Linked DNA regions of Homo sapiens: region 1 is linked to region 2. Evidence: promoter capture Hi-C in 16 types of primary human blood cells and fetal thymus (Javierre and others, 2016). All regions are on one chromosome and are shown on one strand. The core of a region is centred on a gene start or on the middle of the fragment in contact, and the rest is flanking DNA. Distances in the headings are between cores, read along the strand shown. Region 1 overlaps CHD7 (chromodomain helicase DNA binding protein 7). Region 2 holds the start of CHD7 (chromodomain helicase DNA binding protein 7).

Evidence for each region. The method cuts DNA at HindIII sites, captures the fragments that hold promoters and counts their contacts. A CHiCAGO score of 5 or more calls a contact.
Region 1: a fragment that was not itself captured here is called in contact with the fragment with the promoter of CHD7 in region 2 in 3 of 17 cell types (activated CD4 T cells, naive CD4 T cells and naive CD8 T cells); the score reaches 5.9 in activated CD4 T cells.

What each region holds. Positions count from the first base shown.
Region 1 is chr8:60,713,609-60,719,694 of GRCh38, reverse strand. The region is part of intron 1 of CHD7 (chromodomain helicase DNA binding protein 7); the gene reads right to left. Among named protein-coding and RNA genes, the nearest start is that of CHD7, 38 kb to the right of the region's middle. The HindIII fragment of the contact is 1,839 bases long and covers 1,151-2,989 here.
Region 2 is chr8:60,674,790-60,680,542 of GRCh38, reverse strand. CHD7 (chromodomain helicase DNA binding protein 7) reads right to left here and starts at 1,803. Exons shown (of 38, transcript NM_017780.4): 1 at 1,461-1,803. RefSeq lists silencers at 326-695, 1,356-1,455, 1,816-2,255. The HindIII fragment of the contact is 9,178 bases long and covers 1-3,912 here.

The DNA.
Region 1 (6,086 bases), core at 821-3,320, 39 kb before region 2:
TGCCGAATGAGGAGGGTCCCCCAGTGCTGGAGCTCCCTGAGGGCAGGTGCAGAATGTGCTTTGTACACTTTTATTACCCCAGGGCTTTATTTATTACCCCAGGGCTCCCAGAGTGCCCAGTACAAAGGTTTGACCAATTAATAATTCATGGCAAGACAAACTAGCCCCTAACATATTTAATCAATAATAATAATGTAAGAATGTGTCAGTCTGAGACTGATATCCATTTCAAGAAAATTCTGAAAAAAAAGTTTATAAACCTTTGAGCCCCCACACGTTTCAAATATTTTAAAGACATAAAATCAATCTATCTATCTAAATCTAACAATTGTGGAACTTCAAAATGAAAAGTGTCCAAATTTTTCATATTCCTGCTCTGGAACTTTACAAAATATTTTCAGCCTACTCATCTGAAATCATAATTTAGACTTACTTGAATCAAAAAAGGAAGTCTGCCAATCTCCAAAGTTTCCTACCCTGTGGGTGACAAATCCTTTCCCATATCCAAATAGTGTCATGCATCACTCAAGTGTCAGTTTAGAAGGCAAGAGGCTACCTGTAAACATAGTCATGTGTCACCTAATGATGAGGACACAGTCTGAGAAATGTGTCGCTAAGTGATTTTATCTTTGTGCAAACATCACAGAGTGCACTTACACAAACCAAGATGGTACAGCCTCCTACACACCTAGGCAACATGATACAGCCTATTGCTCCTAGGCTGCAAACCTGTGCAGCATGTTACAGAATACTGTAGGCAACTGCAACACAATGGTATCTAAGCATAGAAAAGGTACAGCAAAAATACAATATAAAAGATTAAAAATGATACACTTGCATAGGGCACTTACCATGAATGGAGCTTGTAAACTAGAAGTTGCTCTGGGTGAGTGAGTGAGTGAGTGAGTGGTGAATGAATATGAAGGCCTAGGATGTTACTGCACACTGCTGTAGACTTTATAAACATTGTACACCTAGGCTATAATGAATTTATGAAAATTAATTTTTCTTTCTTCAATAAATTTATCTGTTTACTGTAACTTTTTTATTTTATAGACTTTAACCTTTTGACTTTTACAACTTAAAAGACGAACACATTGTACAGCCATACAAAAGTATTTTCTTTCTTTATATCTTTATTCCAAAAGCTTTTTCATATTTTTAAATGTTTAATTTAGTTTAGTTTTTTACTTTTCAAACTTTCTTTTTTTTTTTCTTTTGAGATGGAGTCTCACTCTGTCTCCCATGCTGGAGTGCAATGGCACAATCTTGGCTCACTGCAACCTCCACCTACCGGGTTCAAGAGATTCTCCTGCCTCAGCCTCCCGAGTATCTGAGATTAGCGCCTGCCACCACACCCAGCTAATTTTTGTATTTTTTAGTAGAGATGGGGTTTTGCCATGTTGGCCAGGCTGGTCTCCAACTCCTGACCTCAGGTGATCCACCCACCTTAGCCTCCCAAAGTGCTGGGATTACAGGTGTGAGCTACCGCGACCAACTTCAAACTTTCTTGTTAAAAACTAAGACAGACATACACATTAGCCTAGACCTACACAGGTTGGGATCATCAATATCACTGTCTTCCATCTCCACATTCTGTGCCACTCTGAAGACTGGAAGGTCTTCGGAGGCCATCACAGGCATGGAACTGTCATCTCCTATGATAACAATGCCTTCTGGAATATCCCCTGAAGGACCTGCCTGAAGATGTTTTACAGTTAAATTTAAAAAAAAATGGTAGAAGGGGTATACTCCAAAATAACAATAAAAAGTATAGTATAGCAAATACAAGAACCAGTAACACAGTTTACTGTCATTATCAAATATTATGTATTGTGCATAATTTTACATGGTGTACTTTTATAAGACCAGCAATACAGTAGGTTTGTTTATACCACCATCACCACAAACCCATGGGTAATGTGTTGCTCTACATTATGATGACTACAATTGTCAGTGGACAATGGAATTTTTCAGCTCCATTATAATCTCATGAGACCACTGTTGTATATGTGGCCCATCGCTGACCAAAACATCATTATATGGCACATGACTGTATAATGAACCTTCAATCAATCAACTTTCAGGGGTAGTTACCTTACACTTTTCAGCTCATGCCACCTGCCCTTCCCCTACACCCATAAGGTTTAACTACATAACCACCTGAGTTGTAGCATGACCAAAAGGAAAGTAACAGTAAAGAAACTAGGGTCACATACTGTGCCACTGCAAGGCCTGACCTATATCAAGAACACAGTTACTTTCTCTCTAGATAAACAAAATACATAGTGCTAGAAATACTCTGAAATGAAAAATGTGAAATAACTTTGTGCCCTCAGAAAAGTTCTACACAAAGTTATTGCTAAGTCTAATAACCAAAGTGTTTACTCTGCAGCCAACAAGTATAACTAAATGGAAAACACCACAATGATACACTATCTTTCATTTACAAGGAAGCAAATCACTATAATTCCAACTTGACAGTAAACTAATGTTATTCTAATAATTTTCTTTTCAAATGGAATAACTCACCTTTACCAAGTGATCAAAGTACGTATCACCAGTAAACGGGACAAATGAACATTACGTACCCAGATGCAATGACCTGAGGGAAGACATACCACCATTCATGCATTACTCCAGGAAAAAAAAAAAAAAAAAGGCTTAAGGTAGATGTAACAAGAGGGGAAAAATGTGTAATTTGCTAATCAGGACTGTCTCAAAGAGAAACACTGTCTTCAATTTCTGAAAGCCACTATAGTGTAACAATATTTGCTATCTTGCTTACAAAGTTTCATCGGCTATACTATGCCAAAAAGTGTGCTACAGAGAACCGAAGACATTTTTCCCTCCAATGATTAGCTCCCATATAATTTTAAGCAACAAATATGTATTGTGCACCTATCATCTGTCAAACACTGTCCTAGGCACTGGAGATGCATCAGTAAACATTATGGACAACGATTCCTTCATGCAGCTTAATTAAGCTTTGTTTGTGGAGAGAGTCAAACAAAATAAATAAGTAAATAACTAAAAGGAAAGTAAGAGAGAAAAACCAAATCACAGCAGAGGGACCGGTTGGAGGAAGGAGGTGCAATTTTAAATTGGGTGGTAAGGGACTGCCTCACAGGGAAGATAGTTATGTATGATCGGGAAGGAACTGAGGAGTCAGCCCAGCAGGCCCTACGAGGCCCTGACAGTGTCTGAGGAGATCAGAGCAACTGTGGAAGACTGAGAGGGGAACTGGCACCTGAGCATCTAAAGGACAGCAAGGACAAAGTGTGGTGTCCCATGAGATTCTGGATGGGGGAGGCTGGAGCAGAGGGTACTTCTGTGAGGGCTGAGGTTTTGCCTCAAGAGGATGAATCACGAACTGCTTTCAGCAGAGGAGGGACATGATCCAGCTCTGGCTCTGAGAGATGACTTTGACTGCTAACATTGGAAAGACTGCAGGCAACACAGGCAACAGCAGGGAGAGCAGTAGGGGAGCTACTGCAGTAACACCGGCAAGGAAAAAAGGCCACTTGGACCCGGGTGGTAGAAGTGGAGAGAAAAGGTATCAGACTCTGCATATACTTTAAAGGCAGAGCCAGAGGCTTTGAGAACAAATTCAATGTAGCTTGTGAAAGAGTCAAGGAGGACTCCAAGGTTTCTAATACCACAATGTGATGAAGGTTCTGGAAACAATGGTCTCGGAAGGTACTTTAACATCTGCTGTCTCATTTTACACCAAAGTCCTATGAAGTAGGCTGTGAAGGTACAGTGTCACCACCTTTCACGAAGGAAGACACAGGGCGTGGACAGTTAACTGTTCTGTCCATATACATAGTGGTATTAGAAACAAAATAGTGGCCTATATTTTCTAGCCCAAGTTTAGGGTTTTTTTCCATTATACCATGTAACTTGACGTTTTGTTTTGTTTTGTTTTGTTTTTCTAAGGTAGAGTATTGCCATATACAGGAGAAACCCTGCTCCAAGGAGTTTCAGATGGCTCCCTTGAACCAGCGGCTAACATGACTCAGACGCGGCCCCAAAGGGAAGCTCCTTTGGCCAAGTGGAAGCCAAAAAGAGGAAGGGGCTGGGCGCGGTGGCTCACGCCTGTAATCCCAGCATTTTAGGAGGCCAAGGCAGGCGGATCCCCTGAGATCAGGAGTTTGAGACCAGCCTGGCCAACATGGTGAAAATCTGTCTCTACTAAAACACAAAAATTAGCTGGGCGTGGTGGCAGGTGCCTGTAATCCCAGCTACTCCGGAGGCTGATGCAGAATTCCTTGAACCCAGCAGGCGGAGTTTGCAGTGAGGTGAGATCGGCCACTGCACTCCAGCCTGGGCGACAAAGCAAGACTCCCAAAAAAAAAAAAAAAAAAAGGCAGAGCCCTCTGTGTGCTGGAAAGGCCCCTCCCTGAGTTGGTGTCTGATTCTATGAGGGATACATACAACTGGAAAGCCAGCGATGGTTCATCTAGCCTTATTAATAAAAATGCACTCCAAAGTTTAGCCCAAAGCTGTTAGTTCTTCACTCTCATCGGTCTCCGGAAGCAAATAGTGTCAATGTGGCGGCTCTCATTTTTTAACATCAGCTATAAAACTCTAATGTCTTTCTCCAATCACATTTCTCACTGATCAAGAAGAGCCATGCATTGAGCAATCCCACCAACACAAAAAAACAAACCATTCGGACAGAGTATTTCTCTTTCCTATTCTTGTGGCTGCCGGCAGAATATTCCCTCCTGCCCCTCCCCACTATGGCGCCTGCGCCCTCATGCTCCACCGCATTCATTCATTCATTCAGCCGCTGAGCACCTTTCTGATAGAGCTATGTCAGCAACAGGCATTACCATCCCCTTTTCCCCTGGGCAGACCTGGAACACAGAATTACAAGTGGGCTGTGGGCTACGAAGGCAAAACAGGCTGCTGAGGTCAAGTTACGGGGACCTAGCCAGGTCTCCATCCAGAGAAGGCCTCCCGAGACGACCAGAGTGAGGAGGAGCGGGAGCCATGAGGGAGGGCAGGTGGCAAGAAGGGCTCGGAACAGAGGGCGTGGCCTGTGCAGCACCTGAGGCCAAGAAAGGGCGGAACCAGGCCGCGAAGTGGGGGGCAGTGTGGCCATTTCGAGAAGCCCAGGGGCCAGGAGGGCTGAGGGCTGAGCCAGGTGCCAGCGCTGGAGATGACCCTACAGCGGTGCGCACGGGCGCGAGATGGCCTCGCTGACTCCTGCCCACTTCGCTCCCAGTCTCAGCGTCCAGAGGCCTGGCGGTGTGCGGGGCGGGGGGGGGGGGGGGGGGGGGCCTTCTCCCGGCCGCCATGTTGTCAGGCCAGGTGGGGCTCGGCCTTCCGGTCAGGAAGTGGCCGCAGCTCCGGCCCCGAGCCACTGAGGCGGGCATGAGGTGAAGCGAGCGCCCCGAGTGGGTGGGAGGCCACGGTGCCGGCAGCGAGGGCCTTATGAGGGCCTTCCGCGTGCCAGCGATGACCCCGCTCCGCCCTGCGTCTGGCCCAGGGGATGCCCCGCCCCCCGGGGGGCCCGCTCGCCGTCCTCATGTCCTCGCGCGGGCTCCGGGCGCTGACCCATCCCGGAAGCGCGGCCCAGCCCGGCCCACCCCGCCCGCCGAGGCCTGGCTCTGCCCCAGCGCTCCCCCTAAGCAGCCCTGGGAGTCTGAATCTGGGGTTTTGGAATGAAGGCATGCCTTTTTTCTTAACTGCCTTTTTATTGAAGATTATTTATGTCTGCTATCTTTCTACAAAGAAAGAAAACGGGGATTGGGAGTGGGAGCGGGAGGAGAAGCAAAATAAGAAAAAGAAGGAAAAAAATCACATCGAAATTCCTGGCTCATATTCAGGCAGGCAATGAGAAGCCGATCTAAGATGTTAAGCTGAGAAGTGACAAGACCTGGTCTTGTGGGAAAGGTCACTTAGATCCCAGTGGGATGCGTTTTCCCTGGCTTCTCCTGGAATCTGTGCTGGTTTACCCCAGGCAGCAACAGCTCTAGAAGAGCTCCTCGTGAACGCCCACCACCTCCTCCAAACCTCTGGCCTCCAAACAATCTTAACACTGACACCCTAGAGAGAACGTTGCTTTTGTGAATAAA
Region 2 (5,753 bases), core at 554-3,053:
TCCTCGAGGCAGAGCCATCCGGAGAAAGGCGGCTCGGTAATGATGGCTGCTCGGGGCCGGCGGCTCCTTCCCCAGAGCCTCCCGACCAGCGCCCCCACCCCCGCCCGGGAGCCGCCGCCGCCGCCGCCCCCGCCCCCCCCCCCCGCGACCTCGACAGCCCCGCGCCGCCGCGCCCGCCCCGCACCGCAGCCCAGCCGGTGCCCGCGCCCCCGCCCGAGCCCCGCGCCCCCAGCGAGCCCAATCCCCGGTGCGAACCAAACAAACAACGCGTCCCCCACCGCCCTCCTTTCCTCTCCCCGCTGACCGCTTGGCCTCCAGCCACCTCGGCCGTTCACGCTCCAAGCCGCGGCTCTCTGCGAGGGCAGAGCGCACCCGGGTCACCTCGGGGGCCACCTGGTGACCACCCCCCACCGGCGCTGACCCCCGGCGGGTTGGGGGGCGGGGGAGCCGAGTTGCGTTGGAAGGTTAAAGTCGCTATTATGCAGCTGCCGCCGCCGGCGGCCCGGCCAGCTCGACAAGGTGGGGTCCCCTCCTCGCCGCGCCTCCCGGCGCTCGCCCCGGCCCCGCTCCCTTTCTTCTCCTCCTAGCGCACTTGGGAGCCGCCGGGGAGCCCCAGGAGCCCCCAACTCCGGGCTCGCAACTCCGCGCCCGCGACCGGCACTGGCTGAGCTCGGGACGCCTCCCGCGCCGCGTGTTCGCGCTGCCCCCGCCCCACGCGGCGCCCCGCGCACTTTCCCCGCCGCCGACCCACCTCGCTCGGTGGCGGTCCCCGCGCGGGCTGGCGCCGCCGCGCCGGGAGGAACGCACTTTGTTCGCGCCGGTGCGGCCGCAGCTCCCGGCGAGCGCGGCGTGGTCGGTCCGGAGCGGGGGGCGGGGGCGGGAGGCGGGGGTCGCCGCCGTCCCCGAGCCGCCGCCGCCGCTGCTCAGCCGCCCCGCGCCCGCGCGCCCATCGCCCGCTCGCACTTGAGTTGGAGCCCAACTTTTCCTCCTTCCTTTTTCTCTCGAATGGAGCCGGCAACTCGTGCTCGGCGCCGGCGGGAGGAAACGCGCTCGCGCTCCCCCGCGCGCAGACACGCTCCCTCCTGTCCCCCGTACCCCCCCCCCACGCCGGCAGCACAACAAAAAGCCATTTACATGCGAGGAAGTGACCCTCGGCCGCACCGCGCGCCCCCGCCGCCGCCGGCCCGGCGGACGCAGGCAAAAGTTGGGGCGCCGGGCGGCGCTCGGGGCGCGGGTTCGGGCCCCGCGGGCGGCGACGCCGGCGACACTACGCGGGCGGCGCTGCGCTCCTGCGCTGGCCCCGGCCCCCTCCCGCCCTCGCCCCTCGCCCCTCGCCCCGCACACGCCCAACTCCTCGCTCCCAACTCCTAGCGCGGCCCCGGCCCCGGCCCGGAGCGATTTCCTGCCGCCGCCGCCGCCGCCGCCCCTCCCGGGGGCGCCGGGCGAACTCTCGCGCTCACCGGGTCGGTCGGGCTCCTCCGCTGCCTAGTGCCGAGGGGAAAACAAAACGCAGAGCGGGCTCCGGAGTTGGCTCGGCAGCTGCGGCCAGGGGGCTGAATCCACGGGCACGGAGTTGGCCGGGGGCGAACGGGTCTCTGGTGAGTTTCAGGGTGTCCGGGTCCCCGGGCCGCCTCCTCCGCGGCGCTCCTTTGTGTAATTTCACTCGATTCAAGTTTAATCCGATAGTTCCCGAGCACGAGCGCGTCCGCACCACCACGACTCAACCCCCGCGCCGCCGCCGCCGCCGCCGCTGCCGCCGCCGCCGCCGCCGCCGCCGCGGCCCCAGCACGCCAGCGCCTGCGCGCGTCCGGCACGCCGCGCGCACCCGAAGCCGCGGGGCCGCGCGCGCCCGCCGCCAGCTCCCTCCGGGCCGCGCCGCGCCCGCGCCCGCGCCCGCGCGCCGCCACCTGACGTCAGGCGCGCCTGGCATAATTTATGCAAGAATTCGGCCGGGGTGGCGGAGGCCGAGGGAGAGGCCGAGAGAAAAGGGGCGGCGCGGAGCTGCTGGGCCGCGGGCCGCGGGCCGCAAGGGCGGGCCGGGCGCCACTTCCCGTCCCCTGGCGGGCGCCGGCGCTTCAGGCGGGTCTCCCCGCCGGCCGGTGCGCTGCTGCCGCGGAGTCTTCCTTGCCCGGCTGCACGGAGCGCTCGGCCGCTGCGCCCGGGCGCGGACTGGAGGGGCTGCTGCCACGTCTCCCGCGCGGCACCTTCCCGGAGCCGGGTGCGCCGCCCCGGGGCAGGAAGCGGGGCTCCGGGAGGGCTGCGACCCTCCTGGCTGCCGCGAAGGGTTTCCGACGCTGCGCGGCCGGCGGCGGCCGGGGGTGACTGGCAGTCTCTGCAGTAATTATCCTTCAACTTGAAATTATTTTCCCACATGAAATTATTCGGAAGGGACATGTTCCATTCCAGATGGGTTCGTGCCTGCTTCTCCACATCGCTTTTCCCACCTCTTCGTGGATAGGACACCGGATCCACTACTTAATCAAAAAGTTTAACTAGATGGCATTGATTTTGTCGAATTTGTTACCATACCAAAAAAGAGAGAGAAGGCAGAGAGCTCAATGATTATGAAACAAAGAAATAGGATGTATGCCCATTATTAAACGTGTCGGGACTAGAATGTTTTACTCATTCTTTGGCCAAAATGGCACTTGTATCTGATTGCATAGTCTTAAAAATCCGAGCCTCTTATTCCATTTCTCTTCCCGGTACAAAATGAATGTTAAACCTGAAGAAAAAAAACTTTTTTTTACTAATTTTTATTTTAGGAAATAGATCTACAAACATGGATTAAGCCTCTTCTATCTGCAAAATACGGAGCAATTATAATGTGTTTAAACCATCAATTGTAAACTTTAAGATAATTTTATTAGGTTAAAGATTGCACTTATTTTAAAATCAGGAAAGGAACTCATATCAACCAAAGATTGCCCTATGGCAGGTACAGACTGACTGGTTATTACTGGACTCCAAAATAAACTGAGAAAATAGCAAAACTATGTAAAATGTACTAATCTCACTCACTGATGGTTACACTACCTGTAGTGCTAAGCCTGTAATCACAATATTGTTATTTGGACAAAAGATTAATCAAAACTATCTCATTAAGTAACTACTGCAACTATTCAATAAGTTTGATTATCCTAGACTTAATCACTAAGACATTGATTTTCTGATTTTAGTAATAATTCTATAAATATATCACATTATATTGTGGTTTGTTAAATGCACTGCTTTTAGCTTGCTTTCATCATGTATTTGAGTTTTGTTCTAAAAGAAATAAATGTTTTAATGTTTAAGGAGCTTACAGATCATCAAAAAGAACATAGAAGACAGTACAGAAAGAATTCTGGCATTTAAAAAGTTGAAACCACTAAAATCAACTTCCATCTGTTTTAAACCCGGTATCACAAACCAAGAATCACAACTCTGAGGTTAGGCTACTGTTTCCATTAAGTTTATATTTCCCAATGAAAGTATATGAAAGGTGCTTTAGGGGTGTGTGGGGCGGGGGGGTCAAAAACAGGACACAATGTCTAGAAAAAAAATCGCTAGTACCTGACTATATTAGAACACATTTTTAAAATAATGTGCCATAAAAAATTATGTCTTATCTTTTACAGTGTGCCACAGCTCGATATCAGATGTGCATCTATTTCAAGGCAATTCACAGGAGAAAAAAAATGACATCTACATATAGTGAAATTACAATATTGCAATTAACTTGTTATCAACAAATATGACTATGAGGAGATTCCCTGTGCTCTTGTACATTTAACTCGAAAGCTAGGAAACTTCCTTTTGATATATACCAGTACCCAATGTAAAAACAGTCCTACAGAATATAAGTCCTCTGACTTATAGTCTCCTTATCCTGATCACTGCCCTGAGCCATCATGAAGAAGTCTCTAAGCTTTTAGATGTTGTGGTGGTGTGGAACGTAAGGGGCCTTAAAAAGTAGAGGCCCTCAGGGGCAAACTCCTAGGCAGATCTGGCCTACCTGAGTCATAGCTCTCACCACACCACCACCATCCCCCAACACTCCCCTTTAGCCTGAAATGTTTTTTCTCCATTTGCTTCACTATTGAAGTTTTCCCAATGAGAGTAATTTGAATTCACAAGCTTTCTCTTTAAGTATGCAAATACCTTAGGGTGAGATAAGGGGCTACTGGTCTTTCACAGATGAGTGTAAATTGGTTCAATGGGTTGCTTTCCTCCCAACAGCTAGCCAGAGTAACAAATTTAGAGACTTAGCCATTCATTCAACTTCGAGTGCCTAAGAGTTTCCAGGATTGGTTCTAGGTACTGGAGATATAGTAGTGAACAAAACAGACAAAACGTCCTGCCCTCATGGAGTTTACAATCTAGTGGATTGGTAGTTTTGATCTGGTGATAAGGGAGAATGTTAATTTTGGAGTCTGAGCCCTGGAGGAATAGGACAGACCTGAGTTCCGTGTAGCCAGAGGACAGTGGAAAGGTACTAAGGACCTGGGAAGGAGGGCATTGAAGAATGGAGCGGGCCAAGCAGAAAGCAGTTGAGAAAAACACCAAAGAAAATATGACCCACTACAAAAAGGTTGTCTAGGCCCTAGGTCATGAATAGATACAGTCTATTTGAAGAGCTCAGACTTAATGCTGAATTCCACAGACAAATAAATATCTCTGGAAAAATAGCCCAGAATGTATCAACCTATAATACCTGTGGTGAGGGGGTAATGTGCACATCTAAAATAACTGAAAAAACACTCTAACTCTCAAACACTTAAAAATCAAGTCCTATCTATATTAAATGTTTCCAACTTTAAAATATTATGTAAATTACACTAATTCCAGTGTTGAGGGCATCCTTCAGTATATTTTTGGAACTCATCTTTTGAAATTGTGTTCAGAACCAATTTGCAAGTACTGGAAAATAACTCTCTTTAGCGCCACATATTTTTCCCCCACTAAAAACTGTTATTTTTCTTCATTCACCAAATTTACATCCAAATGACTTTGGCTAGCTCCAAACAATATATTTTGCCTCTAAATGATGAAGGTTTACTGCCATTGAAGATACATAAATAATTAAAATATAAATATATAGAGGGGTATAAATGCTGAAGAAAGCAGCAAAAAGAAAAGTCTAAAAAACTTTTTCTGCTTCACTGGGATAATGGCATAATCCTCCTCTGTAATTTTTTCTTTTTTTTTTTTTTTTTTTTTTGAGACGGAGTCTCACTCTGTCACCCAGGCTGGAGGGGGCAGCGGCGAAGTCTCAGCTCACTGCAAGTTCCACCTCCCTGGTTCACACCATTCTTCTGCCTCAGCCTCCCGAGTAGCTGGGACTACAGGCACCTGCCACCACGCCCGGCTAATTTTTTTTTTTTTTTTTTTTTTTGTATTTTTAATAGAGACAGGGTTTCACCGCATTAGACAGGATGGTCTCGATCTCCTGACCTCATGATCCGCCCATCTCGGCCTCCCAAAGTGCTGGGATTACAGGCGTGAGCACCGCGCCCGGCCTGTAATTTTTTCATAAAAGAAAGCCGGCCAGGCACGGTGGCTCATGCCTGTAATCCCAGCACTTTGGGAGCTGAACTGGGTGGATCACCTGAGGTCAGGAGTTTGAGACCAGCCTGGCCAACATGGTGAAAACCCATCTCACTAAAAACACAAAGAAATTAACCGAGTGTGATGGCAGTTGCCTGTAATCCGAGCTACTCGGGAGACTGAGGCAGGAGAGTCACTTGAACCGGGAGGTAGAGGTTGCAATG